5 separate regions of the Homo sapiens genome follow, and all the other regions are linked to region 4. The links are contacts of gene promoters, found by promoter capture Hi-C in human tissues and cell types (Jung and others, 2019). All regions are on one chromosome and are shown on one strand. The core of a region is centred on a gene start or on the middle of the fragment in contact, and the rest is flanking DNA. Distances in the headings are between cores, read along the strand shown. Region 1 has its middle 110 kb from the start of LINC01505. Region 2 has its middle 66 kb from the start of LINC01505. Region 3 overlaps LINC01505 (long intergenic non-protein coding RNA 1505). Region 4 holds the start of ZNF462 (zinc finger protein 462). Region 5 overlaps LINC01505 (long intergenic non-protein coding RNA 1505).

Region 1 (4,807 bases), core at 1,398-3,897, 130 kb after region 4:
GAAGGTTAAACAAGACCAAATCTAAGTTCCCAGCCTGGTTTATAAAAAACAGAGGGGCTGACTTTTTACTAATAAAATTAGCTGCTGGTTCTGCTCCACCAGTCTGCCCACTTTTGCATTTATTTAGCAAATAATTTTCACAGACACAATATGTACTGAAGCTATAACACTGAAGGAAAATGTAGAAGCCAACCTCATGGAGGCTGCAGCATTGTAGTAAATAATCACACAGATACATCTATAATTACAAATGGGGAAAGTGCTATGCCAGAGAGTTATGTGGTTCTTGAAGATAGTTAATGCAGGGATTCGATTCAAGTCAGAGAGAGCAGAATAAATCTTTTCTAAGCAAGAGATATTAGCAGAGTTCTTCCTTCTCTCTTTTTGATCTCTTTCCTTCTCCCTTCCTTCTTCCTTCTTTGTCTTTCCCTCTCTTCCCATCTCACCTTTCCTCCTTTCTCTTTCCTCCTTCCCAGTCTACTTGCTTCCCTCCTGCCTTTTCTTTCCTTTTCTCACTTCCCACTTTCTTCCTTCCATCATCATTCCTTTCTTGTCTTCTGTTTCCCTCCTCACCCTGTCCTCCTCCCTACCCTGTACTTTTCTTCTATTCTTTCCCAAATAGTAGTTGAAAGCTTGTTAGGGACTCAAGCCCTGCACCATACCCGGAGGGTTGATGTACATACAGAGATGAACAGGAAACCATTTCTCTTCAAAGTGCCTAGAGATGATGCATAATTAGTTGAAATTCAGGACAGTAGGTATTATACTGGAAGCAGATACAGGTTTTTCTGGGAAGGGCACCAGACTTAGGCCAGGGTATTGGGAAGGAGCAGGGGCCAGGTGAGAAAATAGTTTTAGAAGTGGTGGACATTTGAGATCATTCTTAGCAGACAGCTAGGAGTTAGTTGGAAAATAGGGTGGAGGACCTTGTGGGCAGGGGAACACTCCCATGTTTAAAAACAAGAAAAGTGTGATGGGACAGTTGCATCTTGGGGAAGACAAGATATCCAGTATAACTGGGGTAAATGATGTGAGCTGGGAAGATCCAGAAGATGAGATGGTTGGAGATATGGTAGGAGCCAGATGGAGAAGAACAGTGCAATATATTGTCCTGTGGGCAGTCATTGAAAGCTTCAAGAAGAGAGCCACATAATCCAATCTACTATTTAGAAAGATCTTTCTCAACAGTAGTGTGGTCCCACCCACTCCCAGCAGATTAAAAAATCATGTATCTTTATATTTGGCTTTTCCAAAACATTATTTCAGGCTGTGAGGTCTGGCGAGGGCTGATGGCCTCAGATGTGGGAACAAAGTGAAATCTCAAGGTATTTGACTCTGACAGTATTGCAGAAGTCCCTTCACCTCTTGTCTAAGGTCTCTGTTTATAAGACTCCCCCCGCTGCCCCGCAAAAAAAAAAAAAAAAAAAAAAAAAAAAGAATGAGTAAACACCATTGGAGCATCTTAATTGTTGGGAATTTTCTATTACTGTAGTGATGATAGGTAAGCCAATTCCTTTGTTTTCAAGGTATAAAAGTAAAAGAATCCTGAAAATGATGGCAGTTCAGAAAATATTCATTATTCTTAACTATGACTTCTCAACCTCGGCACTGTTGGCATTTTGGCTGAATAATTCTTTTTTGTGAAGGGCTGTCTTACAATAAATAGTTTAATAGCTTCCCTGGCCTCTACTCACTGGATGCCAGTAGAAAATCTCTTCCAACTGAGGACTATCAAAAATGTCCCCAGACATTGTCAAATGTCCCCTGGGGGACAAAACTGCCCCCTGTGGAGAACCAGTTTTAAACCGTATGATTGGAAGTATTGTTGACATGAAGAAACTCAGATAAGATTTAGCCAAGGTGTACTCAGCAAATTCTTCATGTGTTTAGAGTCACATAGGGAGGGACTGATGGCATCTGATGCCAAGTAAATTCCAGTGTTGACTCCAGAAACATCCCCTCTCTGCACTCTCAGGCTCCTGCTAATTATGAGACCACCCCTTCCTTTCCCTCATCTCCAAATGACTCTAATGTGTTATCATGGCACAGATCCTACTTTCTCTCCAATTACAAGATCAGATGGACATTTTTCAGTTTGGCTTTCAAAGCTGGTTGCTCCTCAGAGACAGCTTTGCTAAAAGCATTTAATGATCCTTGAGGTAGCCAAGCTTTAGAGGTGCCTATCTGTGGCACTGGGCAGGATGGGGAAGCTATCCGGGGTTCTGTTAACCTTCCAGGGTTACTGCATCTTCCATTTCTCTGTCCTCCCAGAGTGAGGCCTGCTGGTTTTATTTCGGTTTTGCATTTCAGATTCCTGTTTTATAGGATGCCAGCAGCAATGTTTCAGACATTTCTAGGCATTGCATGAGGCTGCTTTTCCCCAGTTAGGTCTTGGGCACTGTAGCACAGCTTCACATATTAAAATTAGGATATCTTGGAGTCACCATTAGGCTGGTGACTAGACTTCACACCCCTTGAGAACAAGGACTCAGTCCTATTTCTTTGATTTCCCAGTGCTTATACTTAGCCGCCCTGCTGGTTGCTGAAAATGCGTATCTTCCAGGACACACAGGAGTCTTGGCCTTGCCACATTTGTCAGCAATGTGGGTTGTCTCGTCATCTGGAACCTACATTATGGTTGTGAACCCACGTTTTACCTGGAACCTTCAGCAGGGAAAGTGTACGCTATTTTTAACAGTGTCCCTTTTTTTCCTAACATGGTTCTTTAACAAGGTCGTATCATTATCAGTTATTTAATATTTCTAAAATTAGAAATCATCTCACTGCTGTGGTAGCTCAAGCTTCAGGCCAGACTCTTTGAGCCTTCTCACACTGGGGCTATTGATACAGCCTCGTGGTGAGTCTTCCCGCTCCTTCTTTTTCTAGTTTATGGTTGGATTCAAAATTCAGCCAGGCTAAACTTTTTGCTCTCTTTTGGTCAGGATTTATACTTATTTAAGGCACCGCAATAGCCACTTTTAAGCTAAAAAACTGGGATATAGCAGCCTGGTTGGAAGTCAACATTCTTACTCAGTGGTCTTATACTTAACTAGCTCAAATAGCTCTCTGACTAGCCTAGGGAAAAGGCCATGCAGTGAAAGGGAGTGGAGTAATGATTCTCTCCAAAGTGGCCCTCCCTGCTGCTCCCTCATAAATTCAACATGTATTTGGGGATAATTAAGAGGGGGCAAAGTGGAAAGCAAGTAGAAGGAAGACAAGGGAAGGGAAGATGCATGCAATCCTTCACAAAGACCTTTCATCACCTGCAGTGTGCCAGTCCCTGTGCTAAGGCCTAAAGACAGTATTATATATGGCATGGCCCTGCCCTCACCAAAGTCATAGTTCACATGAAAAGGACAGAATGAGAGCAAAAGCATCATTAAGACTATATGAAAGCACTTCCTGGAACAGAAAGAACTTTGACTATCTCAACTAATCTCTACATTGTATAGGTACTATCAGTATGCTTATTTTACAGAGGCGAAAACTGTTGCTTGGACAGATTAAGTAATGTGTCCAAGGTTACTTTTCTGATAAAGGATAGAGCCAGCTCTGGAGCCCAGATCTTCTGACTGCAAGTCCAGTGATCTCAGCAGTCAAAAGAAGAAATCTCACCTTCCCGCCTGTGACCAGCCTCCCTCCTCCACCAACAAGCCCTCTGTGATATCTCAGTATTGATGTCTTGGCAGTGTCTTTGGTCCTTGTGCCATGTCTAAAGACAATATTTACTTCTCCTCCCGTAGGGCTCCTTGCTGGCAAAAGGATTGCTCTTCAGACGTGCTGGAAAAAGATCCACAGCACACCTTCAAGGACAGCCTTAAAGCAGGAGTCTCAGGGTGGTTATTGATTACCCTGTTTCCATTTCCCATTGTGGAGCACCATTCTCAAACACCTGCAAGGGCTCTGTGGCCATAAATCAGCTCCTTGTAATAGTAATTAATATGGTGACCCACACAGGGTGAATTCTCCTTTTCCAAAGAACCTAAATAAGTGGGTCATAGAGATGAACATAACTGAAAAATGAGGGGGAACCTCCTTAATGCAAATACATTGTTTTTTTTTCTCCTGAGGAGAAATGAGGAAGGTTTACTAGCCTAAAAATGACTATCACACTAGAAAATAAGTACAAAAAGAAGTGTATAACATTAACATTTTCAATTTGCATGAACTACTTAACCTAAGTCACAGGGAGAAAACTGCGTGAAAATTTTAGCATTATGTGTAAAACATAGTAGGCATTCAGTAAATATTTGTTTTATAGTGAATGAACACATGGCCAAGTAATCCACTCAAGGTGGAAAAACTTTACTGGCTCAACTGGGCATTTTGACTATATTATGAGAAAAACAACTACTATGATGGTTAATACTGGGTGTCAGCTTGATCAGATTGAAGGATACAAAGTATTGACCCTGGGTGTGTCTGTGAGGGTTTTACCAAGGGAGGTTAACATTTGAATTAGTGGGCTGGGTAAGGCAGACCCATCCTTAATCTGGGTGGGCACCATCTAATCAGCTGCCAGCACAGCTAGAATATAAGCAGGCAGAAAAATGTGAAATGAGAGACTAGCATAGCTTCCCAGCCTACATCTTTCTCCCATGCTGGATGCTTCCTGCCCTCGAACATCGGACTCTAAGTTCTTCAGTTTTGGAATTCGTGCTAGCTCTCCTTGCTCCTCAGCCTGCAGCTGGCCTATTGTGGGACCCTGTGATTTTGTGAGTTAATACTTAACAAACTCCTCTGTCTCTCTCTCTCTCGCTCTGTGTATAGATATATACATCTATATATATATATATATAGAGAGAGA
Region 2 (4,613 bases), core at 1-2,500, 180 kb after region 4:
CTGAGGTTGTGTCATTCAGGCCAGGTGTCTGCTTTCAATACATATTGTTTGACCTCAGATTTTTGTTTTAAAATTTCCATTATGAACACTAGGTGATATTCAAGATAAGGCTCATTGAACCAGGTTAAGATAATAGCATTGGCATGACACTTACTAGAGAAGCCTCAAAAATTTAGTAATTTATATACTTAGGCAGAATAAAAATAATTTGCTACTTTAATGCACTTTGTAATGGCAATGGTTTGGTGTGGTGAGTTTTCTTATAACAAGGAATAGCTATGTCATTTTGATAAAATATGTGGTAGATTTAGTTTTCATGCCAAAAGCAAAAACACAGAACAACCCCCACTTCCCCACAAAACCCTAATGATGATGCTCATAGAATATAAATGATTCTTCTCCAAATGTCTGCTTTTTCATTTGTTGGTGAGGGGTACAAATGACCCCTCACTTCTCTCCTTCTTGTCCTCACCCCAATTTCACCATTATTGTAGAGGCAGAGGCAGAGAGGTGAGATGGAAAGAGTTCAGACAGACTTGCCCTGCCCCTTGTTAGTGGTGCGACATTAGGCAATTTATCTGAGAATAATAATACTTCCATCACAGGTGAGAATTGTGAGAAGGTAAAATTCCTTACCTCATGCCCAGTGTAGGGTGGACCCCATTATCCAATTTCAGGTTGCCTCCACTTTCCCAGGAGGCCACCTGCATCATCTCTTCTGCTTTTTTCCCACAAAGATCCTTCATGTTGTCTCAGGATGTACCTCTGAATGGCCTCTCTTGGCTGACAGTGACCATAATGACCATAGAGGTGGGAGGGAGGGAAATCCTCCCTTCCAGAAATTCTTAAGTGGGCTGTCTGGATGAACTTTTACTTGGAGAGTATCTCTGCTTCTTGCTATTCTAGACATAAAGCAGAATGTGGAAGGTGAAGAGTCCAGAAATCAGTAGACAGCCCCATGAAAGGAGGTGTGAGATACTGAGTGAGAACATAGGCTCTGATCTGTTGCTGTGGTTTGCGATCCAGCTCTGTTACTTAATATCTGTGATGTCTTGGGCAAGACCTTTCTCTTAGGGGTCTCAGTTTGCCTGTCTGTAAAACAGGAACAGTAATATGCTTATCTCATAAGATAATTGTGAGGATTAAATTAATTGATTTGTGTGAAGCACTTATACCATTGCCTGGGACAGAGTGATGCCCTGATGTCACTCTTATTACTGTTACCTGAAAGCGGTCCCCATCCAGACCCCAAGAGAGGGTTCTTGCATCTCGCGCAAGAAAGAATTCAGGGTGAGTCCACAGTACAAAGCGAAAGCAAGTTTATTAAGATGGTAAAGGAATAGAGAATGGCTACTCCATAGGCAGAGTAGCAGCCTGGGCTGCTGGTTGCCTATTTTTATGGTTATTTCTTGATTACTTGCTAAACAAGAAGTTGATTATTTATGAGTTTCCCAGGAAGGGCGTGTACAGTTCCCAGAGCTGAGGGTTCCTCCCCTTTTTAGACCATCTAGGGTAACTTCCAGACTTTGCCATGGCATTTGTAAACTGTCATGGTGCTGGTGGAAATGTAGCAGTGGGGATGAACATAAGTCACTCTCATCACCATCTTGGTTTTACTGGGTTTTGGCTGGCTTCTTTATTGCAACCTGTTTTATCAGCAAGGTCTTTATGACCTATATCTTGTGCCGACCTCCTATCTCATCCTGTGATTTAGAATGCCTAATTGTCTGGGAATGCAGCCCAGTAGGTCTCAGCCTTATTATACCCAGCCCCTATTCAAGATGGAGGCACTCTGATTCAAACACCTCTGACATTACTCATGCTGTTGTTATTGTTGTTATCTTTGTTGCTACAATGGTTTAGCAACCGAAGTTGACCAGTCCTTCAACAAGTATCTGTTAAGTGCCTACTACTTGACTTGAGTTCTGCTAGAGTTTATGGATGCAGGATGAATAAAACATAGTGTTAGGATGGAGGTCAACTTTGTTGTCTGGCATTGGACATGCCTGGTGAATGTCTAGTAAGTGTTTAATAGATACATTAAAACAAAAACAGGTGTACAATAAAGAGTCAGGCACTTAGAAAGAGTCAGCACACTTAGAAAGTGTGAAGCCTTAGAAAGCCCAAGCAAGGCCATTCAAAAGCTTTTGTTCTGGTTTCCTTGACTTTGGTCTCTTAGCCAATGAAATTCTTCCATACATGACTCTAAGATCCATCTTTGTGAGATGCTGCTCAGATTAGCTCAGGCCTCCCCATATTTCCAGTGGCTGTTACCTAATGAAAACAGCTCAAATAGCTTTATGTGACACTCAAGGCCCCTTGCCATCTGGCTTCAATTTGTCTGGCTTGCCTTGCTTCCCTCAGGGCTCTAACCAAACAATTCTAGTTGCAGTTCTTGCCTTTCCCTGCCCTTGACCTTTGCCTGTACATTTTTATCTCTTAGAAAGGCTTCCTTTTCCTGTGTGCACACATTTTTAAAGATATAGCCCAATATCATCCCTTTGTGAAGTCTCCCTTGATTTATTATTGTCTAAGTGCTTATTGTTACTTGTTCCATGAAGATGGTACTCAATACCTGCCATCTTGTATTATGTTATGTATGTGAACCTTCATCCCTCCCCTGAGATTGTAAGATGCCTTTGGCAAGAGGCATCAGAAAGGTAGATTGTCAGAGGTTGGCTGGAAAGAGTAACCACCAGAGAAAAGAATAAATGACTGTCCCACGTGAAGGGAGAAGTGAGACCGCAATGTTAATTGGAAGGAAAGAAGAAAGCAATGAGAAGAGGCTCACTAAGCTTATTAAATGTTCTTCTTCTCATAACCTTCACAGTTCATTCTAAGGAGCCATGAGCCTAAAACAGCCAAGCAGCACCCTTTGTATGGTGGGCAGACTTGTAGTAGATGGTAGAAGAGGAGATTTCAGCATGAGAACCTGTGAGATGTGCCAGCCATGGCAGAGAGTAGAAGTGGGAGGGGCTTCCTACCCAGCCCTGCAATTAGGCATGCATGTAACTGTAGGAAGGCTGGCTCTAGAGAAGGATGAGATAGAAGTTGTATTGTGCCTGGGAGATTCTAGTATATGCCTGTTTTGAGCTCCCTTGATCACTGAGTCTGTCACTACCAGGCAATTTGCCTCTACAGGGAAGGTTCTCACCTGGTTAACATCCATCAGATCAGACCCAAATATTCCTTCTTCAGGAAACTTCCATGAGACACTCAGATTAATCCAGATCTCAATAGACTTTATAACCTTCATTCATACCAATCACCATTATTGCAATCTTATTTTTATTGGTATAATTATTTGATTGATATCTAGCTTCATGAGACTGTAGCTCCATGAGGACAAGGAATTGTTTTAGTTTTGACCTCACTTATCACCTAGTTCAGTGCTTAACATCATCTAGCTCAGTGTTCAATAAATAATTGTTGAATGAAATGTCTTTGCCATCTAATGGCCACATATGACTATTTCAATTAATATTAATTAAAATTAATTAAAATTTAGTTTCTCAGTCACACAAGCCACATGTCATGTACTGGACAGCCACAGGTGGCTACCTCTAGATAGTACAATGCAGTTCTAGAATGTTTCCTTAGTCACAGAAAGCTCTGTTGGACAATGCTGCTTAAGCTGTTGGCATCTTGTTCATGTCCAATACGGTCAATGGTTAGATTTTTCTCTTTAAAAAAATCTCAGCTGGGCATGGTGGCTCATGCCTATAATCCCAGCACTTTGGGAGGCCGAGGCACATGGATCATCTGAGGTCAGGAGTTCGAGACAAGCCTGGCCAACATGGCAAAACCCTGTCTCTACTAAAAATACCAAAAAAATTAGCTGGGCATTGTGGCGGTTGCCTGTCATCCCAGCTACTTGGGAGGCTGAGGCAGGAGAATTGCTTGAATCCAGGAGGTGGAGTTTGCAGTGAGCCCAGATTGTGCCATTGCACTCCAGCCTGGGTGACAAGAGTGAAACTCCATTAAAAAAAAAAAAAACTCAAGTCAGACAGTTCTGACTTGGCCTGAGGACTCCTGGGAAGTCTGTTCTGTAAATGGAAGAAATCTGAAAATGAACCAGCAGAAGATTCTAGATAAATTTTTCACTCACTCATTTTCATTTAAGAGATAGTTAAGGAATGTTTACTATATATGGCCCTGGCCACCCATAAGGAGCAGTCTTCCTGAATTTTTCAATTTTCTCTTTAGAGAGGTAATATCACTTGATGATGAAGAATGTAGACTTTGAGAGCTTGTTTAGAGGTTCTAGCAGTGGAGCACAGCTACTCGTATACCCTTCACTGAAGACTGGCCCTCCTCTATTGGGGATGGTCATCCTCTTCAACCAAGCATGCAGCTTTGGGAAGGACACACATGGAGCGGTGAGGGAGGAAGGGGACATCTGCCCAGACAGCCAGATCAGCTGAATCAACCCTGGTGATCAGTGGGTGGCAGATGTCACAGCCAGATCACCCTCACATTCAAGAATGTAGACTTTGAAATCAGGCAAACTGGTGTTCAAATGTTGACTATGCTGTTCACTAGTGTGTGTGAGGTTCTGGGCAAGTTATGGAACTTCTCTGAGCTTTAATTTCTTCCTATAACAAACAGGAATA
Region 3 (5,024 bases), core at 1,588-4,087, 220 kb after region 4:
TTGAATGGATGAAAAGTTGCAGAATCATACAGACTATATGACAGCATTTAAAAATGTATTGGGGACACATATAGATGTAATAAAATTGTAAACATATGAAATAGGATACACAGTAAATTCCTGAGTGTGGTAGCTTTGGGAGAGAGGAAGAGGAAGAGGAATAAATGCTCTTGTGAGGGGTAACAAAAGGGGCTTAAACTTTATCTGCCGTGCTATAGTTCTTTTATTTAAACAAACAGAAGCAAGACAAGAAACAACAACCTGACCTGGTCAGTTGCTTCAACTGATCAAATGGGGCATTGCTTGGTATTATGTGGACATGTCTAATAAAGAGGGTTCAGGCCACAAATGAGTTCCTATTGCAGAGTCCAGTCAAGGTCTCAAATCCCAGTGATTGATTGGAGCCTCTGACCTAAGTTTCCTTGCCAAGGCATTTGCATTGAACATGAACACAAATGTGTAAGTTAGACATATTGCTGTGTCTTTTTGCCAGAATTTTAGCAGAAAGGTTATATTCGGTCTCACTAGTTGAAAACACAAATAATTCCAGGATTGCACTAATAACATTCAAGGGGGGTAAATCTGCTTTCTCACAGAAATTTAGGCAATGCTAGAGTAATTTAATTCATAAATGGCTCCTGGTTGTGATTGCATTAGGGCTGTGAAATGTACCACAATGAAATGGCAATGACTGTCTGCTAAAACAAGGAAGGTGGGGATATGGCCTTTCTTGGTATTTATATTACATCATGATGAAAAATATGTGATCTTTAAGTTGTTACACAACAAATAGAGCCTTGGTCAAAATTTCACAGGGAAAGTAGTTGAAATTTTGTACTTTCGATGTTTTATATTAATTTTGATTATTATAATTTTTTGATTAATTTTCCTTGGGGATATCAGGACAGTATGATGGTACCTTGGGATGGTGTTATATGATGTTGATGGGGTGAGGAGAACACAGATTAGTCGGTTCTGTCCAATAAGCCCCTCTCTCCATAAGGAGAGTATTCTCAGGTAACTGTTATAATAGAAATGTCTCTATTTTCAATCTTTAAGCATTTTGAGATTTTTTTTACTTGATGCTGGTGAATTTAATTTCCTACTTTAAGTTTGTGTAATCATGCCTAGTACTCCTCTTCTCCCTCCCCCATTTTTTAAAAGACTTTGAGTCACAACTTTGCCAGCCTAATCAGACTAGTATGGGCATCACATTGTCTAAAAGGTGCTGCCCTGCTGGGATTTACATTATGGCTCTTTTTGCCACCCTGTCTGCTATTGGTTAAAGAGCTAGCAAGCCTGGGTGGGGCGCGGTGGCTCACGCCTGTAATCCCAGCACTTTGGGAGGCCGAGGCGGGCAGATCACGAGGTCAGGAGATCGAGAGCATCCTGGTTAACATGGTGAAACCCTGTCTCTACTAAAAAATACAACAAAAATTAGCCTGGCTTGGTGGTGTGCGCTGTAGTCCCAGCTACTGGGGAGGCTGAGGCAGGAGAATGGCGTGAACCCGGGAGGCGGAGCTTGTAGCGAGCCGAGATCGTGCCACTGCACTCCAGCCTGGGTGACAGAGCCAGACCCCATCTCAAAAAAAAAAAAAAAAAAAAAGCTAGCAAGACTGTAGGAGAACTGGCCAGAAAAATAGAAGAGAAATAAAACACAGTAAAACTAGTTTGACTGTCCAACTTAAAAAGATAGACTCCGAACTAAATATTTTGTGTGTAATGGGACAATATTTTGATGATACTAGGGCAATGTGCAGCATTTTTTTTTTTCACGGTGAGCTCTTGTTCCAGGTTGGCTTGTGCCTTTCATAACTAGTGTCAGTCCTAGACAATTAGAACAAAGGGAGTAGAAAGAACTCAGGATATGACATAGGGGACATACAGCCGTTAGAAAATAGAAGATGTGGGTGGAGATGAGTCAGAAATATCCAGATAGACATGAAAGAATTTAAAAATATGGTGGGAGGATGTAGAGAGGAGACAGTCACCAGCAACCTTGGGGATAGTAGAGGAAGGTCATATGCTTTCAGGAGAAGTCTCCTCACAAGGCTACTTTCAATATGGTGTAGGGTTATACACAGCAGTGATGACTGGGGAGGAAATAAATAGGTGAAAGACAGGGCTGTCTGTAGCTATGTCAGGTAATCAATCCAGAAGTTTCTGTGAGCCTCGCTGAGGGGACACTGAGGAGCTGAGAGACAGCACTGTGTTTAGGGGCTTTCCAAACAGGGACATATGACCAGAACCATGGATTCCAGTTTTCAACAGCAGCACCTTGCTCTAGATGGGGCCAATAACACCTCAACAGTGATCAGTCCAAGTATCAGAATAGATCGGACGCTTCCCAGTAAAGATAAGAGAGGATCCAAGGACACCTGCTGGAACTTACGCCTTTTCTCTCTGCTTTGAGAGTATGCAAAGAAGCCTTGTCATCAGATCCAGAAATCATCTCAGGATAAAGAACAGGGAGGGTTCAGGACACTATAAGATGAAACACTCACCTAAAGTAAAAGAGCAGCCAGAAATACGGAAAACTTTAAGCCATCTCTAAGAGGAAGGTGAACTTAAAATATATCCAACATTTTATGTGAAAAGAGATTAAAGTGGAAAAAAGATTGAGATATTGTAAATTTCCAGTTCTAGGTTTCCCAGCTACCTAGAGAGCTGTGGGAGGGGAATTCGTGAGAAAGAACAGATCATGAGACAAAGAACTTATACTTTCTTTGAATATTTTAGTGTAATATGCAAACTTTTGACTCTACCAGATGTTTATGGTTAGGGTTGTACCTAATTTTTTTTTAATTGGTGGATAATATATACGTGTGTGTGTGTGTGTGTGTGTGTATACATTCACAGCTCTCTTCATGTGCATTTCATGACTTCCAAAGAATACAGAAACTCTTATCAAGACACAAAACATTTCCACTACTCAAGAAAGTTTCTTCATGCCCCTCCTCAGTGAACTACTGTACCCTCTTATCTGAGGCACTGATCTATTTCTCATCATTACAAAAAATGTTATCATTTCATTTAAGTGAATCACACACTTTGTACTCTTGTGTGTCTGACTTCTTTTGCTTAGCAAAATGTTTTTGAGCTCTATCCATGTTATTGTGTATATAAATAGTTCATTCCTTTTTTATTGCTGAGTAATATTCCATTAATTGATGTTTGAGTTGTTTCCATTTTAGACTATTACGAATAAAGTTACTATGAACATTCTTAAACAAACATTTGTATGGACATTTGTTTTTATTTCTCTTGGGTAAATACCTAGAAGCGAAATTGCTAGATATAGAGTCAGTATACATTTGGCTTTATAGAAAACTGACAAACAATTTTCCAAACTGGTTTTACCACTTTATACTCCCACAGGTAATATATGAGGGTTATTGCTGTTCTATATCCTCACTAGTATTTGGTGTTGTCAACATTCTTATTTACAGCCATTCTAATGTGTGTGCAGTGGTATCTTATTGTGGTTTTGACTTGTAATTTCCTCACGACTAATGATGTAGAGCAATTTTTTATGTTCTTTTTGGCCATTCATATATCATCCTTTGTGAAATGTCTGTTTAATTCTTTTGCCTATTTCTTTAAACTGTGTGATTTGACATCCATAGGAGTGTGCTGCTCAGATCTCCTTTGAGAAAGCTTATTTTGGGAAATATAATTGATTGACAGTTCCCCATTGCTGCTTTCAACCAGTGCCTAAGCACTGGGGAATGTGAGTCTAACCTATGCCCACCTAACAAGGATTCCTCTAAAGGGCAACTTTTGCTTAAAGATTATTCATCAGCCTGATTAAAATATTCTGAGAGTGTGTTGCAATTTGAGGCTCTTCCTAGACAATTTTTCTTTCTTTCTTATCTTGGACAGGTATCAGAATTGCCCTGGGGTTAGATGTCTTTCCTTGTTTGTGTGCCACTACTCCCCCACCAGTTTATCTTCACAGATACTTCAACCAGTACATCTCTAGCACTTCTAATCCTATTTTGGCATCTGGAGACACACTTCGTTTTTGTTGTTGTTATTGACTTGTATGAATTCTTTTTATACTCTGGATACAAGTCCTTTGTCGGAATCTGTATTGTAAATATTTCCTTCCGGTTTGCATGTTAATTTTCTTAACAATGACTTTTTATGAGCAGCAAGTTTAATTTTGATAAATACAACTTATTGATGTTTTCTTTGATGGTTCGTGCTTTTGGCATTTTAAGTTATTAAATTTATTGGCATGATGTTCATAATATTTCATTATTTGTAGAATCTACGGTGATGTCTTTCCTTTGTTCTGATATTGGTAATCTCTTTTATTGAAGATCATATTTTCTTGATATTGGATATTAGTATTTTTTTCTGGATTAATCTACCTAGGGGTTTATCAACTTTATTTATTTCAAATAATATATTTTTGCAGTTAGTGATTTTCTCTATTATTTAACCATCTCCTATTTCGTGGATTTCCATTTTTCTTTATTATTTCATTCTTTCACTCGCTTTAATTTTCTTTCTTTGAGTTTCTTAGAATGAAATTCTAGAGCTTTAATTATCAACTTTTTATATTTTATAATGTATTCATTTAAAGCTATACATTTCCCTCTAAGCAATGCTTTATCTCTATTCTGCAAATGTTGGTAAGTTGTGTTTTTCATATCATTCAGTTCAATATACTTTCTCATTTCCCTTGTGACATCTTTGACTCATGGCTTGTTTAGGAAGTGTGTTGAATTCCCAAATATTTGAATATTTTTCAGATGTCTATCATACTTAATTTATTGCCTTTTATTTATACCCATTTAAAATAATTTTTTTTATCATTTCACAGAAACGTAAGAAACTTGTAATAAATATAATTACATTTACCATTCCATCATTTCTGCTACTGTTGTCATATCTTTTACATCTACATATGTGTTAAAACCCACAATATACTGTCATCTTTCTTTCTTTTTCTTTTTTTTTTTTTTTTTTTTTGAGACAGAGTCTCACTCTGTCACTCAGGCTGGAGCGCAGTGGTG
Region 4 (5,028 bases), core at 2,359-4,858:
TGGACACCCAGTTTGGTGCATCCATTTATGCATTAGCAAATTTAAATATAATATTGGCGAAATTTCACTTAAGAGCAAAAGTAATGGTATCAAAAGATAATGTTCAAAAATGAATAATAAAAGTTATGATTCCAAGTAGGATTTTTTTTAAGTGCTCTTGGAGAGGCCTAGGTTTTTCATAAAGGAGCAGAGATCTAACAGAAGTATTTTTAAATAAGCATACACGTCAACTGAAACCATACATTTTTGTCTGCACAAACATGGTTTTACTTCATTGACCATGGACAATTATCAGCTAAAGAACCATGTATTTCCCCTCTCCTTTCACACCCCTCAGAAGAACAATAACCCTCAATTAATGACACAACAGTTTGGTTTGAAAAATGTGATGTTGTCATATACAGCACTGTGCATTTACTGAGTGACAGTGCTACCAGCTACTCAACAGAATATAATTACATCTGGAATCTAAAACCACTTCAATATGTACAAAAATATTTTAGACATAAGGAACTTTACACAAAAAAATCTGACACATAATGAGAAAGCAAAGCAAGAAAAATGCTGTTGTAAGTTGCTCACCAATGTGTTCCTTATTTCTGTTGAAGCTGGTACCTTTCTATATTTCTTCTTAGTTGAAAGCAAGGTCCAATTAGCCTCCTTAGAATATATTAACTGGTTCTGAATCTCCTCCAAGTTTTCATTCCACCGTGGAGCCCTCCTCACCTATCTTCAACAGTTCATCTAAAATTCTTCCAACATCTTCCCTCATCCTCAAGATGGCTACCTCACCTAATGGAAAAGCAACATCTTCATGGTTGGCTTTTAAAAATTCCTGAAGCATTTCGGGATTTAGTTCTTTGCTTGGGTCAATTATGTACATTCTCTAAAACTAATATGTGAAGAGCTCCCATCAATGTGTGTGGACTAGGGTAGCACTGGGTCCTTTTTTCAAATTATCCTCACAAAATGTCTTCCTACATGATTAATAAATTCCTCCCAATTAAAAAGGTGAAGATACCTGGACATAAGGTTTTCTCAACTGACATCATGTTTTTAAAATTTGTTTCCATAGCGACATTGTTAAGAAGACATACTGATATTTCTGAAGACTTAAGAGTACTTCAGAACACAGAAAAAATTAGCCGACGGAAAGGGAAAGGGGAAACAAAGAAACTGAAAGAAGGCCTAACATACAAATGGAACGACCTGAAGAGAAATGGAGAACCTGGAGAAACTGGTGTTAGCCAGTCTTAGAGTTCCTCTGAGATCTTGCAGGATTATTCTTATTATTTTTTATATTTGCAGAAATCAACTCAAATCAGACAATAAAGTCTTGCAATGCATCAAAACATGATGATAACCAAACCCTAGAACTCAAAAAAATCTCAGCTTAGGGCCATCACCATCTTCACAAGGAGGAAATCACATTTCCTGGTGACTTTCAGGAGACCTGGAGCAGCTTAAAGTTGTGTGAAGACCTCAGTGGAACTGTTTTAAGGTTTTTGCCTTGCCTTTCCTGAAGGAGGTCAAAACCCTTCAGGTCCACTCAAAAGGAGAAAAAAAATTCCAAAAGTTTACTTTAAAATGGAAACAAACGCCTCAATAACTTGTGAAAGCACTCTTTGGTGGAGAAAAATCTGAGGAACCCTTAAAAGCCCTCATTTCCTTGCATAATGAATAGACAGTGAGGAACCACCACAAGGTTTCCCTCTGGAAAGAGAGAAGGAGTAGGCAAGCAAGCCTCCTCCTCCTCCAGCCATCACCAACAGAGCTTCAAAATGGAGACATCCATAATTTTATAAACACTTCTCATCTCAGCTTTGTCTCCTGGAAACCCGCTCTCCTCCATTTTCTGGTGGAGTTACAACATGACACGGCTTACCTGACTCAGTTCCCAGCTCTTAACCAAACTAGTCACTTCCTCCAAAAACCTGCAAGCAACCTCCAGAAACAAAACCAAAGCAAACCAAACAGCCAACACAGACACTCAGACACAGCCCCCGGGAGCCCTGGGAGAAAGCCCCAACTGGTTGGTCTTTCCCCATCCCAGACGCGTGCTTAAAAATGAAACTTTTTTTTTTCTTGGTTGGGGAGGAATATAAAAGGAACTCCAGGCAGCCTCCCTCCCTCCCTCTCTGTAGGTTAGAAGCCACAATGAAAAGAAAACGAGGGTTCCTTCAGGAATGGTGAACAGCCTGGAGAATGAACGTGAGAAGGAGCTTTGTGTTTTGGAGTCTGGACTGGAACCAAAGCAGACAGCTTGCAAATGGAGGACAGGGAGATAAAGAAAGGGAAAGAGGGGCTGCTCCAATGGGGGGCGGCTGCGGCTTCCCCTCGTGCCTGGAAGGAGGGCAGACCCCTGGGAACTGCACCAGGAGTGAGACGCCCCCCCAGGCCCCTGCCTTCCTTTCTCCCTTCCTCAGAGGAGAGCCAAGCGTGTGTAATGGCTTCTCCTCTCCAGAAACCGTTGTCCTCCTCCACCAGACGCTTCTGAACCTCCAGCCTGGAGACAGCTCCTCAGCCGCTCCTGAACCTGCGCCCCCCACCCGGCCGGTGCCCCCCGCTCCTCGCCTCTCTGTTCACCAGCAGCACCGGCACCAGCAGCTGCAGCAGCCACCCCCCGACACATCCCGACCCCGCATCCCAACTTCGGGGAGAGGGAGAGAGAGAGAGAGAGAGAGAGAGAGAGAGAGAGAGAGAGAGAGAGAGAGAGAGAGAGAGAGAGAGAGAGCCAAATACCTGAGGAAGAGGGGGGCTGCCAATCCGCACGGCTTTGCCATCGGGCGGGGGACAGGCAGACAGAAGGGGGAAAGGAAGGAGAGGGACAGAGAAAGAAAGAGGTCAACCCGCTCAGGTCGGGGCCGCTCGCACGGAGCTCTCCCTCCTCTGACCCTCGCTCGCTCCCTCTGGCTCTCGGCTCAGGTCTCCGGCCTCCCGCCCTCCGCCCCCCTCTGTCCCTACTCCTGTCCCCACACTCGGAGCATCCGTCCTAAGCCTCCAGCTCTCTTCTCACTCATCTTTCATTTTCTCTTCTCTTCATAGAACTACACGAAATTAATTAAGCCACCGCGCTCACTCCCCCCAGCAGGAGCAGCAGCCAGCAGGAAAAGCACAGCCACCTCCACTGCCACCACTACCACCTTCTCCTCCTCTTCCTCCTCCTCCTCTTCCTCCCTCGCTTCTCCTCCTCCTCTTCCTCCTCCCCCTCCTGCTCTCCCTCCTCCCCCTCCTCCTCTTCTCTCTCGCTTCTTCTCCTCTTCCAACAGCCAGTCCATGCAGGGGACTTCCTCTCCTCCCCGCTCCTCCAACCCTCCTTGGCCGAATGAATGAGCGCGTTTGTGCCTCCACCACCCCGCGCTCTCTTCCCCGGAGCACTCGGACCACCCCGAGGTGGTTGTTAATTGCAGTAACTTACAGAAGAAGCGTCCCGGCGCCGGGAGGTGCTTCGGGTTCTCCAGCCCCACCGCCTCCTTATCCTCTTTCTCTTTCTCCTCTTCCTGCTCGGGTTATTGTTGTGGAAGTTGTTTGGGAGTCTCATGTGCTTCTGCCGGGTCTCAGCAATGGAGGATCGCCATCTTCCCTGCCTTCCTCGGCTCCTCAGACTCGCTGCAGCTGCAGATGACCTGAGATATCCGTCTCTCTCCCTCTCTCTCTCTCTCCCTCCCTCCCTCTCCCTCTCACTCTCTCTCTCCCCTCTCTCTCCTCTTCTCTCTCCTCTCCTCCCTCTCCCTCGCGCGCTCTCTCTCTCTCCCTCCCTCTGTGTCTCTCTCTGAATAATGAGCAACCAGGGGGAGAGAGAAAGCAAGACAGAAAGAGAGAAGGAAGACAATCTTCTCCTGCCACACAAAACGCCGGAGCACCAGGGGGTGCGCGAAGCCTTTCTAATAACAACAACAACGTGCAGCAGAGAGGAAGGAAAAAAAGAAAGAAAGAAAGAAATGAGGAAAAAGGCTAGGGGAAAAAAGAGGAAGAATTATCCAAGAGCTCGAGAAGAGCAGAAGGAGAAGCTGGAGGAGATGCTGAGGCTGCTGCTGCTGTTCCCCCTCCCCCCTGCTGAACCCCAGAAGGAGGCAAGGTGGTTGCAAAGTTAAGGCTGGGACATTGTCTTTGTCACTCAGAGCCAGGCCAGTGAGATGCAAGAGGAGGAGGTGGCGGCGGCAGAGGAGGAGGAGGTGGTGGTGGAGGAGGGGGAGGAAGAGGAGGAGAAGGAGGCAAAGGAGAAGGAGGCAAAGGAGAAGGAGAAGGGGAAGAGGGAGATGAGATGATGAATAAAGACCTGCGGAGAAGGCGGTGCGAGGAGCGCGGCCGCCGGGCCGAGGCGTGCGCGCTCGCGTCCCGGTGGCGCCCGGCAGCCCTGGCCCGCAGAGGAAGCCCCCGGTGAGGACCCTGCCCGGCAGCTCATAGCGCTCCCAACGTCAGCCCTGCCCGAGGCGCCGAGCCCGAGCCCCAGAGGGTCCCTTACTTGCATCCATCTAGAGGCCAACCTTTGCAAAGAACATACGTGGGGAACTGGAGGTTGCAAGTATAAACCCAGATCAACCACGTGGGGCTTTTTAATCCCTTTCCAGCTTGCGGTGTGAGTATTTCCAGTGAAAAGCTCAAATTGTCCATTACTGGCACGTATTTTGAAGTCTTCTCTCCTGAAATAAAGGCTCATTGTGCGTTTTATTTCTTTCCTGATATGGAAGGTGGGGGGGTGGAGGAGGAAAAGAGCCCATCATTCCGAGCTTCGGAACCACCACTTTCTTTTCCTAACTTGTGAAATGTTTTGACTGCGCACCAAAAGAAAAAAAGAACGCCTGCTTAAATAACTTTACACCCTCCAGCCCCGCGTTGTTTGCACTTTCTGGCTGATCATCTAAAGGCTCGGAAAGTAACAATCAGCGCTCTTAATGATAAGGTGTCATGGTGTTGAAGACACGCGAGCCAAGATGAAGCTTTCACACCTTGAATTTTTATTTAGTGTAATCTCTCCCGTATCATTCTGAACTATCTCTTTTGCAAAGGAGTGGTTCCCCCCCTCCA
Region 5 (4,771 bases), core at 1,730-4,229, 200 kb after region 4:
AACTAAACAAACTTCTCCAAGGCTCTGGGCTTCAGCTTCTTTGTGAGACAGTGTTACATAGTGGAAAGGCTATAGAATTTGGATATAAGTCAGCACTCAATGACTTACTGGCCAAACCACCTAGGATTAGTTGCTTTGTTTCCCTGAGTCTCCTTTTGCTTCCTGGGCAGTACTTACACTCCAGCCCTCAATTTAACTTCCTTCAGAAAAGCTACAGTCACCACTGCTCCTGCTGGGCCTAGGAGGTTAGCAGTAAAATGCACATGTATAATGAGTGAAAGAGGGAAAGCGACTCTCTCTAGTCCTTTTGGGTTGGGCACAAGAGCCACCAGCCAGAACTGGCACAAAAGGTTTGGGGAATCAGAGCATGGCTACATCACCACCTTGAGTGAAGTAAATAATTCAGCTAAATGAAAGTACTCCAGTTGGTAGTTTTTGGCTGCAGCAGAGCCATCTAGTCAAAAAGCATAATCCCAGGGTATGAAAAATCACAAACAATCACAGGACATTGGTACAAGGAGGAGGCTTATAGGCTGTTGATTCAAACTCCTTCATTGTACAGAGGAGAAAACCAAGAGTCTGGGAAAGCTCAGTTAACCAAGTATTATTAGGCATCCCATTACTCTTTTATTAGGAGAAATCTGGTATTAGGAAAAACTCAACATCACCTGAGCAACTGGTTTGGTCCTTATCTTTTGGGTATGGAAAACCTGATTATAGATTGTGTTGCCAGATAAAATACAGGACATCCAGATGAAGCTAAATTTTTGATAGACACTAAATAATTTTTTTAGTATAAATGTATCCTTAATACAGCATAAATATAGAATACTAAAATTATTCATTTTAATCAGAAATTCAAATTTAACTTGGCTTTCTGTTATTATTTTTCTATATCTGGCAACCCTAATTATAGAGTGTCTTTTCATCTCCCATCTTTGCTCTGACTGTTAGGAAGCTTAAAGGCAAATGTATCATCATTGTTTTCTAACAGTACTTTATGGTATGCACTTGGCTTTATCCTGTTTGTTTATTTTCCATTCACCCTTTTCTTCATTAAGAAAATCTAGTTGTTACAAGTATCTCAGTAAGCAACATCAAAAACTTTGCTTGGATATTAACTTAAAAAACACCCACATCATGGGGTACTAATTAAGGGCTATACTTTGTACTCAGTTCTGCAGATGTAAATATAAGTAATACCTTCTGTCCAATCTCAAAGAGCCCTACTCAAGGCGGGGTGAGGGGGAAGACAGTTGTTTATATAAGTAATCAAAATTCAGAGAGATGAATGATGAGGTCCAAGGTCACACAGCTAGTTGGTGTCAGAACCAAGCTGTGTTTCCTTACATTGCATTCCATGTAGTGGGCTAGTTCACAAGAACTTTATTACCCATATCTACCTAAATACCTATGGGACAGTTCAGTAGGCACTGATCATTTGGCCTTCTCAGCACCCATCATTTTTCTAGGAGTAGCATCCCTTTATAGAGGCAATTGCTTCTCTTCCTCAAACTTTTTAATATTAGTAGGATCTTCCAATCAGTGTACTTCTCCATGACCTCAGATGTTTGATTCAGGGTGTGGACATGTGACCCAAGCCAGAGTAGTCCTTCCCCAGGAATTCCCAAATTGGAACAAGACAAAAGGCAGTCCCTCTCTGGTGGCAAAGATGGAGATGAAAATATAAGCAACAGCCATATCCCTTGCAGTGTGGAGGAAGCCAGGCTGAGCACATAAAGTTAATACACAAAGAGTGGCAGAGACACTTGCAGCATTCATGTCTTTAATTTCAGCTGTTCTCAAAGCTATGCTGCAAGTCTCCTCGATCCTTCTAGCCGAAAATAATTTCAGTCATGTTTTTGTCTCTTGCAACCAAAAGGGTTATGGCTAATAGAGATTATTTGAGCTGAATTACTATTGGCATCTTCCCAATGGGCTTTCAGAATAACGTGGCTACAGCACAGTTTACACAAAGCTCATTCTGTCTCTATGCAATGCAGAAAAGCTCCTGTTGCTTTAAAGGTACTGCTAAAAGCAGTATTTTTCCAGTCAGCTTCCAAGACACCGTCAAGATGCTTTCACTTATGACAGATTTGTATCTAGCAAGATCAACCAGCACCATGGTGGGTTAATGCTAAATAGCCAATCTGACTTCAAAATCTCCAAACTAGCTGCATGCTGCTGTTGTCATTGCTTCCATTGTAAAGATGGGGAAATTAAAACCTGGAGAGGCAAAGGAGATTGTTCGAGTTCATACATATTTGGCTAAGTTTATTCTAGAATCTGTGTCTCTTGTCACTTAGAATATTGCTTGTTCCACTATAGTCCTTCTTAAAAGCTGCTATCATTTTTTTAGGATCTTCAATCTGGAAAAAAAAAAACCCATTGATTATGACAACATAAAAAGAGCAAAAAATTCTCGGACTTTATGGTTACGTATTAAAATTAGTCATTTGGGGGAGGAAACCTTAAGAAAGTTGTTAGACATAATATACACTTGAGCATCCTCATTTTGTCTATACATCACAATCCCTTGTGAAGCCTTTTAAAAATAAAGATTTTTGAGTCACCTCCATTCCCACAAAAACCTACTGAATGAGAACGTTTGGGAGATGGGTACCAGGTTTTCACATATTTAAAGAACTCCAAAGATGATTTGGATTGAACTGGTCTAAGGACTAGCATTTAGGATCAGTAATGTAGATTTCTTTTTTGAGAGGGGGGGTTCTATATCCTCAGCTTTTAATTAACAACATTTAGAAAAAAATGTCTCTTGGTTGGATTGATATAACCATTTATACAACCAGTGTAGACATACGATTTTAGCAATGTTATACCTCATTCATTCAACCAATATTTACTAATTCCCTACAAGTTGCTGGGTTCTGCACCAGCCACTTGAATTCAAAGACGAGTCAGATGGAAACCCTGCCATCAAGAAGCCTTGAGGGACAGATAATAGATGAGTATATATGATATTTAAATGAGATGGTGATGTCAGTGTACCATGGGTGGGTGTTCCAGGGAAGAAGCTGGTGAGAATCAGGGAGGGTTTCTTGGGAGAGTATTTGAAGTGGGCCCTGAAGGGCAGGTAGGATTTGGACGTGCAGATGAGAGGAAGATCAACTCAGGCAGAGGAAACAGCACGAGCCAAGAATAGGAGCATGGAAAGAATAGTAGTAATAATAATAATGATAACTATAATAATAATAGCAGCAAGCAATTATTGAGCACTTGCCATATATGCCAATTGCTGTTGTAAGTGCTTTGTGTGGGCATCTCATTCAATCCTCACAACAAAGCAATGAAGTAGGTACTTCTATTATTCCTCATTATACAGATGAGAAAACTGAGTTACAGATAGGTTTAGTAATTTGCCCAAGGTCCAGTGCCAAATAAAGTAGGTGGGGGGAAGGATTTCTATTTTGTTCAGTACGTTTTTGGGGAATGAGTGGATATTTTAATCCAATACTATCATTTCAAAGATGTGGAAACTAAGGTTCAGAAAGGTTAGGATCACTCAACTGGTTGGTGGCAGTGTTAGAATAAGAGTCATTTTAATGCATTTTCCATTATGCCAAGCATGCAGTTTGAGACTGAGAGCAAAATCTTAGTTTATCATTTTCTCTTAATCAAAAATTATTTTGAGGAACTGTGATATCTTGAAAAGTAGCTAAACCCAGAGCTGACCTCTAACCAAGATACAGCTTTTGAATCAGGAGGACAAATCACAAGGGAGAGGGAAGTAAAGCATGGTAGAGTGGAACTTGTTTTGGACAAGTCTTATCTATAAAATGTTCTCATCTATAAAGAGATGCAATTAGACAAGAAGTTTCCTAAAGGTCCCTCTATGTTGGCTATTCTGTCTGATCCTAGGCAGGGCTTGAAACTGAGATTATGTCTGTATAAGTCTCTAAGTTTAATGGACTGAAATATAGCCAGAAATAAATAATCATGCTCTAAGAGAACTACATCTGGAGGCCAGAAAGCAGCTGTTAGGTAAATGGAGAGGGTAGCATTCTTTGAGTTTTTGTTCTTCACTTACTGTTTCAGATGATGCTGAGAAAGTCACTTGATGCATTTATGACAACCTCCAGGACCTAATCCATTTCCTCCTCCCAAAAAATGGGACTTGGCAGGAGAGAGCATCATTTTCTGTGATGCTGCAAACTGAAGAAAAGACAGAGTTATCTTTGGTTGAGGCCACCTGGACGCTTCTAGCTTATTGTCTATTGCTTCACCCTAGAGAGCACGCCCCATCTGACCTGAGTTGAAAGCATTCCCTACTTTAAGTAGCAAGATAGGTTCATGTGTATTCCCTATGTTGTGCTGCATTTTTTAAAGTAAAATAAATTTTAAAAATACGAGAGTTAAGTGTTGCTTATAATTCATTTTGACTGATGCCATTGCATCTAATGCAATATTTAGCTGTTTTACCTGTTTAGAAGCCTGAGAAGAGCAGTGATCCTGGAGAACATTCTCCATCTATTGTAGAACAAGATGGATGGAGAACATTTTTTCCACACAGCAACAATGATTACACTTTAAATTTATACAGCATCTGTCTCTGGAGAGTCTCAGAGAGACTTTGAGAATATTTTTTTCATTTCTCATTTTAAGAAGCCCGTAATGTCAGTTAAAGAGATCGCTTGTCACACGCAGACAGTGAGGCACAGAACTAGCCTCCGGATTTCTTGAAAATTCTTCAGTCTGTAGTTTCGTTGCTAAAGTCAAGGTTGCCCCTGGCCCAGGCACTAAAGAACAGCAC

Evidence for each region. Contacts are between HindIII fragments. The study calls those that stand out against the background at their distance.
Region 1: a fragment that was not itself captured here is called in contact with the fragment with the promoter of ZNF462 in region 4 in 1 of the 25 tissues and cell types used here (heart right ventricle).
Region 2: a fragment that was not itself captured here is called in contact with the fragment with the promoter of ZNF462 in region 4 in 1 of the 25 tissues and cell types used here (H1 embryonic stem cells).
Region 3: a fragment that was not itself captured here is called in contact with the fragment with the promoter of ZNF462 in region 4 in 1 of the 25 tissues and cell types used here (H1 embryonic stem cells).
Region 5: a fragment that was not itself captured here is called in contact with the fragment with the promoter of ZNF462 in region 4 in 1 of the 25 tissues and cell types used here (heart right ventricle).

Annotation. Positions count from the first base shown.
Region 1 is chr9:106,727,052-106,731,858 of GRCh38, reverse strand. No RefSeq gene overlaps it. Among named protein-coding and RNA genes, the nearest start is that of LINC01505, 110 kb to the right of the region's middle. The HindIII fragment of the contact is 3,529 bases long and covers 883-4,411 here.
Region 2 is chr9:106,679,844-106,684,456 of GRCh38, reverse strand. It overlaps the pseudogene RN7SKP77. Among named protein-coding and RNA genes, the nearest start is that of LINC01505, 66 kb to the right of the region's middle. The HindIII fragment of the contact is 6,203 bases long and covers 1-4,351 here.
Region 3 is chr9:106,641,733-106,646,756 of GRCh38, reverse strand. The region is part of intron 3 of LINC01505 (long intergenic non-protein coding RNA 1505); the gene reads right to left. Among named protein-coding and RNA genes, the nearest start is that of LINC01505, 28 kb to the right of the region's middle. The HindIII fragment of the contact is 3,951 bases long and covers 862-4,812 here.
Region 4 is chr9:106,861,746-106,866,773 of GRCh38, reverse strand. ZNF462 (zinc finger protein 462) reads right to left here and starts at 3,608. Exons shown (of 13, transcript NM_021224.6): 1 at 3,419-3,608. The HindIII fragment of the contact is 13,314 bases long and covers 1-5,028 here.
Region 5 is chr9:106,664,155-106,668,925 of GRCh38, reverse strand. It overlaps LINC01505 (long intergenic non-protein coding RNA 1505), which reads right to left. Exons shown (of 7, transcript NR_104145.1): 4 at 4,049-4,173; 5 at 1,204-2,369. Among named protein-coding and RNA genes, the nearest start is that of LINC01505, 50 kb to the right of the region's middle. The HindIII fragment of the contact is 6,710 bases long and covers 1-4,771 here.